2 separate regions of the Homo sapiens genome follow, and region 2 is linked to region 1. The links are contacts of gene promoters, found by promoter capture Hi-C in blood cells and fetal thymus (Javierre and others, 2016). All regions are on one chromosome and are shown on one strand. The core of a region is centred on a gene start or on the middle of the fragment in contact, and the rest is flanking DNA. Distances in the headings are between cores, read along the strand shown. Region 1 holds the start of CEACAM4 (CEA cell adhesion molecule 4). Region 2 has its middle 7.2 kb from the start of CYP2A13.

What was found. Contacts are between HindIII fragments. The CHiCAGO score rates a contact against its expected background, and 5 or more counts as called.
Region 2: a contact is called between a fragment that was not itself captured here and the fragment with the promoter of CEACAM4 in region 1, in 1 of 17 cell types (naive B cells). The highest score is 5.7, in naive B cells.

The regions. Positions count from the first base shown.
Region 1 is chr19:41,625,824-41,632,523 of GRCh38, reverse strand. CEACAM4 (CEA cell adhesion molecule 4) reads left to right here and starts at 5,450. Exons shown (of 7, transcript NM_001817.4): 1 at 5,450-5,624; 2 at 6,564-6,700. The coding sequence starts at 5,561. The HindIII fragment of the contact is 7,709 bases long and covers 1-6,700 here.
Region 2 is chr19:41,078,213-41,084,336 of GRCh38, reverse strand. No RefSeq gene overlaps it. Among named protein-coding and RNA genes, the nearest start is that of CYP2A13, 7.2 kb to the left of the region's middle. The HindIII fragment of the contact is 672 bases long and covers 3,506-4,177 here.

The DNA.
Region 1 (6,700 bases), core at 4,201-6,700:
AGGCACGTACCTGTAATCCCAGCTACTCAGGAGGCTGAGGCAGGAGAATCACTTGAACCCGAGAAGCGGAGGTTGCAGTGAGCCGAGATGGCATCATTGCACTCCAGCCTGAGTGACAGGGCAAGACTCTGTCAAAAAAAGAAAAAAAAATATATATATATACCATATCATTAAGTCAAAGAAGTGAATCAGTCAAAAACAATGGATGGAAACACACCAGAAAAGTGGACAATAGAAAAAAATACCCCAAATACAGAAGTATTAAGTTAAAAAACAAAAGTTATAGAATAAATACATATGAACTCAACTCTAAAGTTTAAAAAGATTAGGCCGGACACGATGACTCACGCCTGTAATCCCAGCACTTTGGGAGGCCAAGGCTGGAGGATCACTTGAGCTGAGGAGTTCAAGAACAGCCTGGGCAACATGGTGAAACCCTGTCTTTACAAAAAAGTACAAAAATTAGCCAGGCATGGTGGTACATGCCTGTAGTCCCAGCTACTTGGGGGGCGGGGGCTGAGGCAGGAGGATCACTTGAGCCTGGGAGATTGAGGCTGCAGTGAGCCAAGATCATGCCACTGCACTCCAGCCTGGGAACAAGATGAGACCCTGTCTCAAAAAAAAAAAAAAAATTAAGATCACATTCAATGTGAAAACCACACATAGGCTATATGTTGTTTATGCCATATAATTTAAAAACACTACGGAGGAGTTTCCGCATCAGTGGCTAAAACAATTCCCTGTTGGTTACATATCTGCCTCATATTCCATTGTGTAAATGTATATAACCTGTTTAACTATGCTAATGTAAATGTAGGTTGTTTTCAGTATTTTGCTGTTAAGCCATCACTGCCATGAGAAACCGTGATTAGGTGTCATTTTTCATGAGTGTGTGATAAATTCCTTGCAGTGCAGTTTGGGAGGCAAAGAGAATGCATATGTTAAATTTTGATAAGTGTTGACAAATTTGATGCCACACAGTTGGTACAAATTTTCATGTCACCCAACAAAGTTAGGAAGTACAATTTTTACCAAAGTTCTTCCCACACGTTGTGTTATCAAATGGAATTTTTCAGCATTTAAAACCACTGGGCCATATTATGATCCTCACCTTTCCAGGATAATATCAATGTCCGTTTCTCCTGCATGTGTGCGGGTATTTTGTTCATATGTCTACGAATCATTCAAATTGTTTTTTCTTCTGTAAACTGTTTATATATTTGCCTACTTTTCTACTAGACTTCAGTCTTTTTAATTTTATTTATTCTTTAAGTATTAACAGATGTGAAAGTTGTCAGAGTCAAAATGAGTCACTAGTGTGAAAAAAAACTCTGACAAATAGAGCCAGAGAAGACCATGAAGAGAGGATCCTCATGCCTGATAACAAAACTATCACAAAAGACTCTGCAAAAGCCACAAGTTTATACAAAGGCCATCACAACCTTATATGAAAACTACTTCTGCAAGGACATCTGCCCAGCAACTGCCTATAGAACCTCACAGTGGCATCATTCTGGCTATTGATCTTTGTAGCTAGTTTTTTTTTTTTTTTTTCAAAATGACTAGATAATAATCCCAATTTTTTCCTTTAAAAACTCGAATATGTAGATCATTTTACTATGGCACATGCATTTCCATTGAAATGTGCTACTCCCAAATAAACATCAGTTTCTCATAGAAAGCCTCACTCTGTTTGTTACCATATATGGTGTCAGAAGTGGGATCTGGGAAAGATCACTATCAGAAGAAATCTGTGATCTTTGAACCAGTGTGCACTACTCACTTGAGAAGTTTGAGCTCTCTGCTTCCACACTCACCTTTCCTGCCCTGACAAGTCTTTGCTCAAGCAGAGCCTCTTTTTGGTAGAAGCTCTTGACTTTATTTGGAATCTGATTTGGATAAGGCTGCCTTAGTAAAAGACCATACATTTCTCCTGGGATGATAAAAAAAAAAAAAACTTTTTGTCTTTTCTAGCAAGTCCTTTCTGAGAGAAAGGCGTATATCTTTCTAGATCACGTACTCTGGATTCTACAAAATTTACATTCTGCCTGTGAGGCAAGTCTATTCTGGTGAATTTACTTCCATTTTGGCCTGTGTGCCTAATTTAAATACTTTAAAAATCTGCATGCCTGGGTTAAAATTCTTGTGAATGCTCTTATCTGGATTTCTTTTTATTTGGTTTGACTCTTTTCCCCTTGCTTGCTTCTGAAAATCATCCCAGAACACAAAAAAATAGACATTCTAAATGACGGGCACAAAATGGCTAATTAACAGCCACTAGCGTGGTTGCCACCATCTAAAACACTGGTACAAATGCCTGACATTCTCTGGCAGGATTTGTAAAATTTTCTTCACTTTCAAGAGATTAATAAGAAATGGAATGGGGCTCTCAAGCATTAAGGCATGCCAGGTTTTCTGGGGCTCCAGCTGGCTACATTTTATGGTTCTTTCTTGTGCACATTTTAAAGTTTATGAGCAAAATTACATCAAGGAAAATTCAGTACTCAATGATCATCATTCAACCTGTTTTAAAAAGCCCTGCATCTATAGGGTGGAAATGTAGAGTCTTCTAAATTCTCTATTTTTTTTTCTCTACCTACTTTGAATCTGCTGACTTTTCTACTGGTGTTGAGATAAAACTCACTGCTTATGGCATTCTAGCCCAGAGTTTTAAAAAAGAAATCTTGAAGGGCTTTAAAATTAATGGCTTTACAAATTAAACAACTCCATGATAAGAAACAACTTAGACACCTTTAGGAAATGTAAATTTAAGTTTGTCTAACTAATAATTGCTTATAATGGAGCACAATTAAAAATCAATAATTAAAAAAATACATGGTTATAAAAGTTAGGCTCTCAGATCATACAGGTCAAAATCTTGAACTCAGAGCAATAATTTAAGGTGTCTCTGTCCGACATAAACTTTTTTCTTCTTTTGCCATGCAGAGGCAAAAAAGAAAAAGCCAGGAAAAAAAGCTAAAATCCTTCCTCATCCACATTTGTTAATCAAGCAAACCACATCACCACCACCCGCCCCCCTCCAACCCACACAAAAAATCTAGTTTAAGGCTAGTTGGAGATTTTTTTTTCTTATACAATTCAGCCAGTTCTAGCTAAAGTGTAAGCAATTGAAAATTTAATCCTAAACTCATGTGAAACAGAAAAAAAAAAGATGCTGAAACTGTAGAGGTTTCATTTGTTTATTTGTTTATAAGTTACACTGCCATTAGAAACTGCTTTACCCAAAATATTTCCCCCAGCCTTCATTATATTACCTATAGGGGCAAATAAAGTTTATCCATGTTAACGATTCCAATTTGTCAGAAATACAATTGGATCCAGTTGACTTTAATCAACTAGTGAGTTTGTATTACTATCTCATCACTAAAATTCTAAAATGAAAGCTGTAAGATTTTTATTTGTTTGTGGATATGTGTTTAGGTGTGTTTTTGCATATGTACATGTATTATGGTCTATATTGTGTCTACATGACAAAATCCACCTTAGTTGGCCAGAAACGCCTTAATAAACTCTATTTGCATTTCCTTAGAGAAATGAGCATAAGAACATGGCTTTTACCCTAGTAGCATCGGGAGGGAATTCAGGGTCTTTCTAACAGTGAGGGGCAAACCCAATTCATTCCCTGACATCATTCACTGACATTCCCTCCAGGCTCTAACATATGTCTTTCTCACAAACACACCAAAACTGACACAAACTCCGGATATTCGATCCCAGGTGGATCTTCCACCAGGGCAGAATGACCACAAGAAAGTCAGGGAGTGATTCCCCAGCCTCGAGATCCCCAGTATTTGGGACATCTGCCTATGGTCCCTGCAGACATTTCACCAGGGGATCCAGGGGAACTTCTCCTGCAGGAGGGGACAGGATAACCCAGGATCTGCCTTTGTTTCCATCTCAGAGGGACTGAGGGTCACGGGGCCTCCCCTGCTCTAATACAGGAACCAGGTATCCCTTGCAGCCTGCAGGTAGGAGCTGCCCCAGCTCCTGGGCCCTGTGGAGAGGCCTGGGGCAGGTGACAGACAGGGACACAGATGACCTGGAGGCGGAACTCCCAGTGTTGTGATGGAGGAACACAGAACACACCGAGGACCACCTCCCAGGCCAGTGCCCTCTCTCTAAACCCCCAGAGACACCTCCCTGGGCCCTTCTTTTGAAACCTTGGGGACGGATGGCTCTTTCTGAGGCAGCCCATCCGCCTGCAGGACAGTTCTCCCAAATCAGGACCAGGAGTGCTCTGGACAACTCTCGTCCTCTCCCTGAGCTCATCCTGCACTGCATGGAGTTGGACATCCTGGGGACCCACAGTGAACAGGACCAAGGATGACCTGACCCTGCAGTCTGGAGGTCAGAGCCCACCTCTGCCCAGGGGCCAGGGCCAACTCATACCACGTGGACCCTGGTCAGCATCCCTGGGGAAGCCCCTGACTTTTACCACAGGGTTCCTCTTGCTCTCCAGGGGCAACATTGCACGCAGACAACACAGGAAATGGATTCCCCTGGACAGGAATCTGGCTTTGCTAAGGAGGTGGAGGTGAAGCCTGGTTTCCATACTTTGCTCCAGCAGGCCCTTCCAGTCCCTCCCATGTGCCTGCTCTGTCTCTCCTGATCCTTCCTGGAGCCTCTGAGGATCCTGCTCTGCCAGGATTCTCTGCTCAGTTCTCCACTTTCTCCTGGTATCATGCATGGGGAAGGTACAGTGACAACAGGACAATCACCTTCACAGAGGACAGAGGCCACCCGGGATGGTAAGGGAGAACATGCACAGGCCCTAAGCCACAGCTCAGCCAACAGAAACGGAGAGGGAGGATCTCCCTGAATCCCTCCTCAAGGACAGCAGAACCCAGAGCCACCCACCTCCCTCCACCACAGTCCTCTCTTCCCAGGACATGCAGGACACCTCCCTCCACATCCAGGAGCTGGGGATCCTCCTGAGACCCCCAGGCCTGGATCTCTGTCCCTGGGTCAGAGGCAAGGCTGGTGACACTGGAGAGAGAGGACTGGTCCCCCCCGTAGTCGCCCCCCATTTTCTATCCCACAGAGCCACCTCTGTCACCTTCCTGCTGGGTATCATCTCACACTCCCTGAGTATTGGGGAGCATGAGGAGACCTGGGGGCCCAGCTGGGTCTCTGTGTCACAAAAGGAAACAGTTCCCCAAGTTTGGGAGACCCCAGAGTACCTCTGTTTGTGGTGACATTCCCAAAGGGTCAGTGCAGGGGTGACAAGTCACCCTCTCTGGGGACAGGGGACTCCACCAACCCTGCTTCTCAAAGTGTGGTTAGGAAACTGTAATGTACACAGAAGAGAAAGGGGAAGGAGGGACAAAAAAGGCAGAAATGAGAGGGGAGGGGCAGAGGGGTGACCTGGGAAGAGCCCCGCCTCTGCCCCTGGCCCTGGGAAGTGCTTCTGCCCGGGAGGAGGCTCAGCACAGAAGGAGGAAGGTCAGCAGCCCCGACAGCCGACAGTCACAGCAGCTCTGACAAGAGCGTTCCTGGAGCCCAGCTCCTCTCCACAGAGGACAAGCAGGCAGCAGAGACCATGGGCCCCCCCTCAGCCGCTCCCCGTGGAGGGCACAGGCCCTGGCAGGGGCTCCTGATCACAGGTGAGGGGAGGACTCTCTGGGAGTGGTGGGAAGAGGGAGCACAGAGACTGACTGGGGTCTCTTGGGTAGGAGGGGATAGAGGGCTTCTGGCTGGGGTCTCCTGGGGCTCTGAGAGGGGACTGAGGGCCTCTGTTGGAGGCTGGATAAGGGAGAGAACATCAGAGAGGGGCAGGGGTCACAACAGGAAAATCTCAGTGAACTGGAATTGGTAAAAGGCAGGAAAATCTCAAGTGTTCTCTCGTCCTGGTTAATCATCACTGGCCACTACATTTTGAAAAATGATAATAACTATACCAGATGACACTTCAAATAAAAACATAACCAGGGCATAAAACACTGCTCTTAGCCAACAACCTCAGACACTGGGAAATAAACCTCAGGACTTGGAGGCCCTGAGAATGCTCATGAACTCATCTACAGGAGTCTGCAGCCTGTGCCAGGCACTGGGGTGCAACCAAGATCACACAAGTCCCCGCCCTCACAGAGCTCACGCTCTCATGGGGAGGAAGACAAACACCTAAAGAGATCTAGAATGTGAGGTCAGGTGCTGACAAGAGCCCTGGAGGGAACAGAGCTGGGAAAGGTCAGAAAGGGAAGACCCAGGGTCTCTAGAGGAGGTGTCAGGGGAGGGGTCTCCCAAAAACACCCTGATGTGAGCAGGATCTGAGGGCAGTGGGGAGGGAGCCGTGCAGACCCCTGGGGAAGAAGATTCCACCAGGGAAATGCCAAGGTCCAAGCTGTTGAAGGAATGGGGGTCATGCTGCTGACCCAGGGACACACACACACACACACACACACACACACACACACACACACACACACACACACACACACACTCCAAGGCTGAGGGATGAGGAGACCTGCTGAGGACCCAGGGCCTTATCTTTCCATCCCACTCCATAGGTCCCAGTATTGACTGATGCTGTCTTCACCTCCTAGCCTCACTTTTAACCTTCTGGCACCCGCCCACCACTGTCCAGTTCACTATTGAAGCCCTGCCGTCCAGTGCTGCAGAGGGAAAGGATGTTCTTCTACTGGCCTGCAATATTTCAGAAACTATTCAAGCCTATTATTGG
Region 2 (6,124 bases), core at 2,592-5,091, 550 kb after region 1:
CTTTTCTTTCTTTCTTTTCTTTTTGAGATGGAGCTTTGCTCTTTCGCTCTCGTTGCCCAGGCTGGAGTGCAATGGTGCGGTCTCGGCTCACTGCAATCTCTGTGTCCTGGGTTCAAGTGATTCTCCAGCCTCAGCCTCCCAAGTAGCTGGGATTCCAGCCACCACGCCCAGCTAATTTTTGTATTTTTAGTAGAGATGGGGTTTCACCATGTTTGTCAGGCTGGTCTCAAACTCCTGACCTCAGGTGATCCACCCACTTCGGCCTCCCAAAGTGCTGGGATTACAGGTGTGAGCTACCATGCCTGGCTGTGAAAGTAAATTTCATGCTGTTAATCACCACTTTGGACTGCCAGGCCCCACCTGTTTTTCTTTATGAAATATTAGAAAAACTGCCTGTAATCTCTTCTTCAAATACTTCCTTGTAAACATGTAACAAAAGTTTTCAAAATGTTAGAAAAAAAGTCTTTTAATAGGAGGGAGACTTGACCTTCTATAGTGTTTGCACTCTTCGGAACCTTAACCAACGACCTAGTTGGCCAGTATACCCCTCAGGCCATTGTCAATGAAGCAGTGGGGGAGTTGGGGTATTAGTGGTTGTGGTCAGAGAGTGAAATGTCTGTGTTTCACATTTCAGAGTGATGACAAGGATTAGGGTGGGGCTATGGGAATGTTGGCTGAAATAGAGTAAAGGAGGTCAAAGAAGAGAAGAAAGTCAAGATTCTTTTTTTCTGAGTGTTTGGACAGCTCACATCCATGGCCATGAAGTTCCTGCCTACCAGGAAAATGGCAAGACTTAGAGCCCAGAGATGGGAAAGAAGTTGGATAGATGACAGGGATGAACAGCTTTTTTTGTTTGAGACGGAGTCTTGCTCTGTCGCCCAGGCTGGAGTGCAATGGCGCGATCTCGGTCCACTGCAACCTCTGCTTCCTGGCTTCAAGCAATTCTCCTGCCTCAGCCTCCTGAGCAGCTGGGATTACAGGCATCCACCATCATGCCCGACTAATTTTTGTACTTTTGAAGAGACGGTGTTTCACCATGTTGGCCAGGCTGCTCTTGAACTCCTGACATCAGGTGATCTGCCCGCCTCAGCCACCCAAAGTGTTGGGATTACAGGTTTGAGCCACCATTTCTGAACAACTTTAAAAAATTTTTATTTTTATTTTTATTTTTTAAGAGGACGAAGATGTCAGCTGCCAAGTGCACTGATGAAGAGTTTCTTCTGGTAATGGTTGAGTAGCTTCTTTTGGAGCAAGCATCCCGTGAATAAAAACTATTAACTCTGAAGAAAACATTTTTAACAACCCAATTCCCTGAAATCACTGGGGGGTGAAAAAAAGCAGCAGATTCTGAAGGGAGTTAGGAGAAAGGGGTTTCCTTTAGAAAAAAAAAAAGAAAAGAAAAGAAAAAAGAAAAAAAATAGCTTTTGGTCTTCCTTACCACAGGAAGAATGGGAGATGGGGTCACTGCAAATTTATTCTAGAATATTTTTCATCTTATTAAAATCCTTTAAAATGCAGACCACTTCTTGACAGGGAGGGCTAGGTAAACAACAATTCGTAAGGGAACTAATTTTTTTTTTTTTTTTAACATGCTGTGTCTCTTTAAATGTAGAAAGGTGATCAAGATGGCTGACCAGATGCAGGTAGCATGGCCTTCTTCGTGGAGAGGAACTCCATTTTAAACAGATTATCTAGGAGAGAATGCTGGAATTCATCAGAGAAGAGAAGGGATTCAACAGAGAAAAGAAGGGAAGCACAGGAAGTGAGTAAGGAGAGGGGATTGACTGAAAGCTGAGAGTGGCTCCTGGATGAGGGGAAATTATAAGAGAGAAACTCCCAGGGCTCCACACTTTGAAATGGGCTTTTATGATCTTGGCTATGGTAGAAACCCTCAACCCACTTGGGTCTTGGGCCTGACATACGGAGCTCCCTAAAGATTGTGCAGAGACATTGCCCTGGAAAATGGAACCCACATGGAATCCCATTTGAGCCTAGAGCAGCCTCAGCTGAGTGCTGTTTTGAGAACCTGGATACTGGAGATCTATAGAAATGGTTGCTGCTGCTGTGCTGCTTCAAGTAAGTATAGAGGAGACCCAGCACTCCCAGGCACCCATGGGAGGGTCCTTTCTGCCTTGCTGCGGGCTGCTGTTGAGACTGAGATGTGAGTGAACCACATTCCCCACAGCTTCTTACCCTGGTTGCAGGCCCAAGGAACCATTTTGAGAGTTTAATACTGTGCCATGCCCTGCCCTCAGGCCCAGTTTGAGTTGACCTGGCTGCAGCCACCACCTGGCCAAGGAGGGACAGGGAAACAAAGCTCCTTTACATATACCTGGGACAATTTCCCCGACCCTGCTATGGGCTGCTGTGACAGGGAGACTTGAGCAGACCCCACTCCCCACAACTTCTTGTCCATACTGCTTACCAGAGAGGGGCCTGTCCTCTTTGGTCACAAGCCCACAGCTGGCACAATCATAAGAGTTTAATGTTGGGCTCTGTCCCCCTTTTTGCCAAGTCTGAGGTGATGCCACTGTAGCCGCCACCCAGATGGGGGAGGCACAGGGGAGAACAAGCTCTCCTAAGCACACTTAGGTCAATACCACTACCCTGCTACAGGATGCTGTGGGACTGGGGAGTAGCCCACCCAACCCATTGCATCTACCAGCAACACCAACATGGACTGCCTGGGTCCTAGTGGATTGCTCCACCACCACTACTGCCATCACCCATATCACACCAGGTTGTGCTTCCCAGGGGCCTGAGAACTTGCCCACATCCCTGTCCCCCAACTCCCATGACTCCTCTAAGCAAGCCACTAGGAAGCTCAAGAATCAGCCTCCCAGGACTCACTAATACCAAAGCCAGTAGACTGCTCTGGGGCTCAGCCATACTCTCCAAGCTGCTGCCACCACCAGGGCCCAAAGATGGGCTCAGTTGGCATCCACCACCCAGCTAAATTTCTCCTCGATCTCAAGTAATAACTGTACTCTAAGCTACCAAGGAAATCAAAGATACCAGTGACCCTGGGTACTGCCTATGAAGTCATACTAAGATCACACTACCATAGGCACCCAGAATCAAAGCCAAAGTATCCTACTCAACTAACAACATGCATACATTTTTCAGGAAAAAAATTTTCTCCTACAGGGCAATTAAAAAAACTTGAACAAGCTACTGCTACACAAGATTTGCAGATATCAATGAAAGGACACAGGAAACATGAAAAAGGAGAAAAATGTGACATCATCAAAGGACCACAATTGTCCAGCAACAGATCCCAATCAAAAAGAATCCCTCAATATGCCAGATAAAGAATTCAAAATACTGATTTTATAAAGCCCTACAAGATGCAAGAGAAATTTGAAAATCAATACAAAGAATTAGAAAATCAGTCCAGGAAATGAATGAGAAATTTACCTAGATAAATAACTTAAAAAAAAAAACAAGCAGAAACTCTTGAACTAAAAAAATTCAATGAAGGGAATACAGAATATATTCAAAAGCTTCAATAGTAGACTGGACCAAGCAGAAGAAAGAACCTCAGAACATGGCTGGGTGCAGTGGCTCATGCCTGTAATCCCAGCACTTTGGAAGACCAAGGTAGGTGGATTCCTTGAGGTCAGAGTTCAAGGCCAGTTTGGGCAACATAGTGAAACCCTATCTCTAAAATTAGAAGAAAAAAAAAGAATCTAAGAACTTGAAGACAGGTCTTTTGAAATGTCCTGTCTGACAAAATAAAGAAAAATAAATAAAAAAGAATCATCAAAGACTTTGAGATATCTGGGACTACATAGTGTGACCAAACTTATGCATTTTTGGTATTTCCAAGGGGGAAGAGAGATTTTAAAAAATTAGAACACCTATTTTTAGGAAGTAATTGATGAAAACTTCCACATCTAGCAAGAGAGTTAGACATCCAGCTACAGAGCCCCAGCAAATACATTGCAAAAAGAACTTCACATAATAGTACATTTAGAAAGTCTAAAGTCAAGAAGAAAGAAAGAATTTTAAAATTAGCAAGAGAAAAGCATCTAGTTACCTATTAAGAAAACTCATCAGACTAACAGCAGACTTTTCAGTGGAAACCTTACAGGCTAGAAAAGAAGAGAATGGCATTTCCAACTGCTGAAAGAAAAGTACTGTCAGCCAAAAATTTTATGTTCTGGCAGAATAAGCTTCATAAATGAAGGAGAAATAAAATCTTTTCTAGAGAAGCAAATGGTGAGTAAACTTGTCAACACTAGCCTGTTCCTATGGGAGATGCTCAAATGGGTCTTAAATATGGAAATGAAAGGTCAACACTCAGCGTCATGAAAACACACAGAAAAATAAAACTCACATTTCTTATAAAAACAACCTCATACATGAGGAAGAGAAAAGAATCAAATGGCAACATGGGAGAATCTCATCAAACCACAATGACAAAAAGAGAAAAAGAAAGAAACAAATAATTTATCACATAAAACAACTTAAAAACAATTAACAATATGACAAGAATAAAGCCTTGCATATCAATATTAACCTTGAATAAATGGATTAAATGCTTCACTTACAAGATATGTATTGGCGGAATACTTTAAACAACATGATGCCCAGCACTTTGGGAGGCCAAGGTGAGTGGATCACCTGAGGTTGGGAGCTTGAGACCAGCCTGACCAACATGGAGAAACCCTGTCTCTACTAAAAATACAAAAATTAGCTGGGTGTGATGGCATATGCCTGTAATCCCAGCTACCTGGGAGGCTGAGGCAGGAGAATTGCTTGAACCCAGGAGGCAGAGGTTGCAGTGAGTCGAGATCATGCCATTGCACTACTCCAGCCTGGGCAACAAGAGCAAAACTCATCTCAAAACAAACAAACAAACACACACACACACACAAACCATGATGCAACTATATGCTGCCTATAAGAAACTCACTTTACCTGTAAAGACACATATAGACTGAAAGTACATAGATGGAAAAAGCTATTCCATGCAAACAAAAACCAAACAAGCAGGAATAGCTATATCTTATACCAGTTAAAACAGATTTTAAATAAAAAACATTAAAAATAAAAACAAAACAAAGAAGGTCATTATATAATGATAAAGGGATCAATTTAGCAAGAGAATATAACAGTGCTGAATATATACGCACCGAACATCACAACCCCTAAATTTACAAACAAATACAACTAGACCTAAAGAATGAGATATACAGAATACAATAACAGTGGGGAGCTTCAATATCCCACTCATACACTAAACAGATCATTGAGAGACAAAATTAGCAAAGAAACATTAGCCTTTCATATGCTTTGGATGTGTGTCCCCTCCATATCTTATGTGGACATGTGATCCCCTATGTTGGAGGTAGGGCCTAGAGGGAGGTATCAGATCATAGGGGCAGATCCCTCATGAATGGCTTAGTGCCATCCCCTTGGTGATGAGTGGGTTCTCACTCAGTTTAAATGAGATCTGGTTGTTTAAAAGAGCCTGGGACCACCCCCTTCCATCTCTTGCCAGTGTGATACACTGGCTCCTCCATTGCCTTCCACCATGATTGTAAGCTTCCTGAGACCCTTATCAGTAGCAGATGCCAGTGCCATGCTTCATGTTCTGCCTGCAGAACTGTGAGCTGATTAAACCACTTTTCTTTATAAATTACCGAGGCTTGGGTGTTCCTTTATAGTGATGCAAAAATGGACAAATACAGACTTAAATTGGACTTTAACCCAATGGACTCAACAGACACTTATAAAACATTTTACCCAACAACTACAGAATATACACTCTTTTCATCAGCACATGATATATTCTCCAAGATAGACCATATATTAAGCCATGAAACATACCTTAACAAATTTTCTAAAAATCAAAATTATATCAAGTATCATCTCAGACCACAGTGGATAAAGCTAGAAAAGGATTCCATTCCATCAATACTAGGAGGAACTTTGGAAATGGTATAAATACATGGGCATTAAACAGCATGCTCTTGAAAGATCACCAGGTCAGCAAAGAAATTAAGCTGGAAATTTAAAAAAAGTTTGAAATGAATAAAAATGAAAACACAACACAAAAGTCTGTGGGATACAGCAAAAGCAGTACTAATAGGGAAGTTTATAGCACTGAATGCCTACA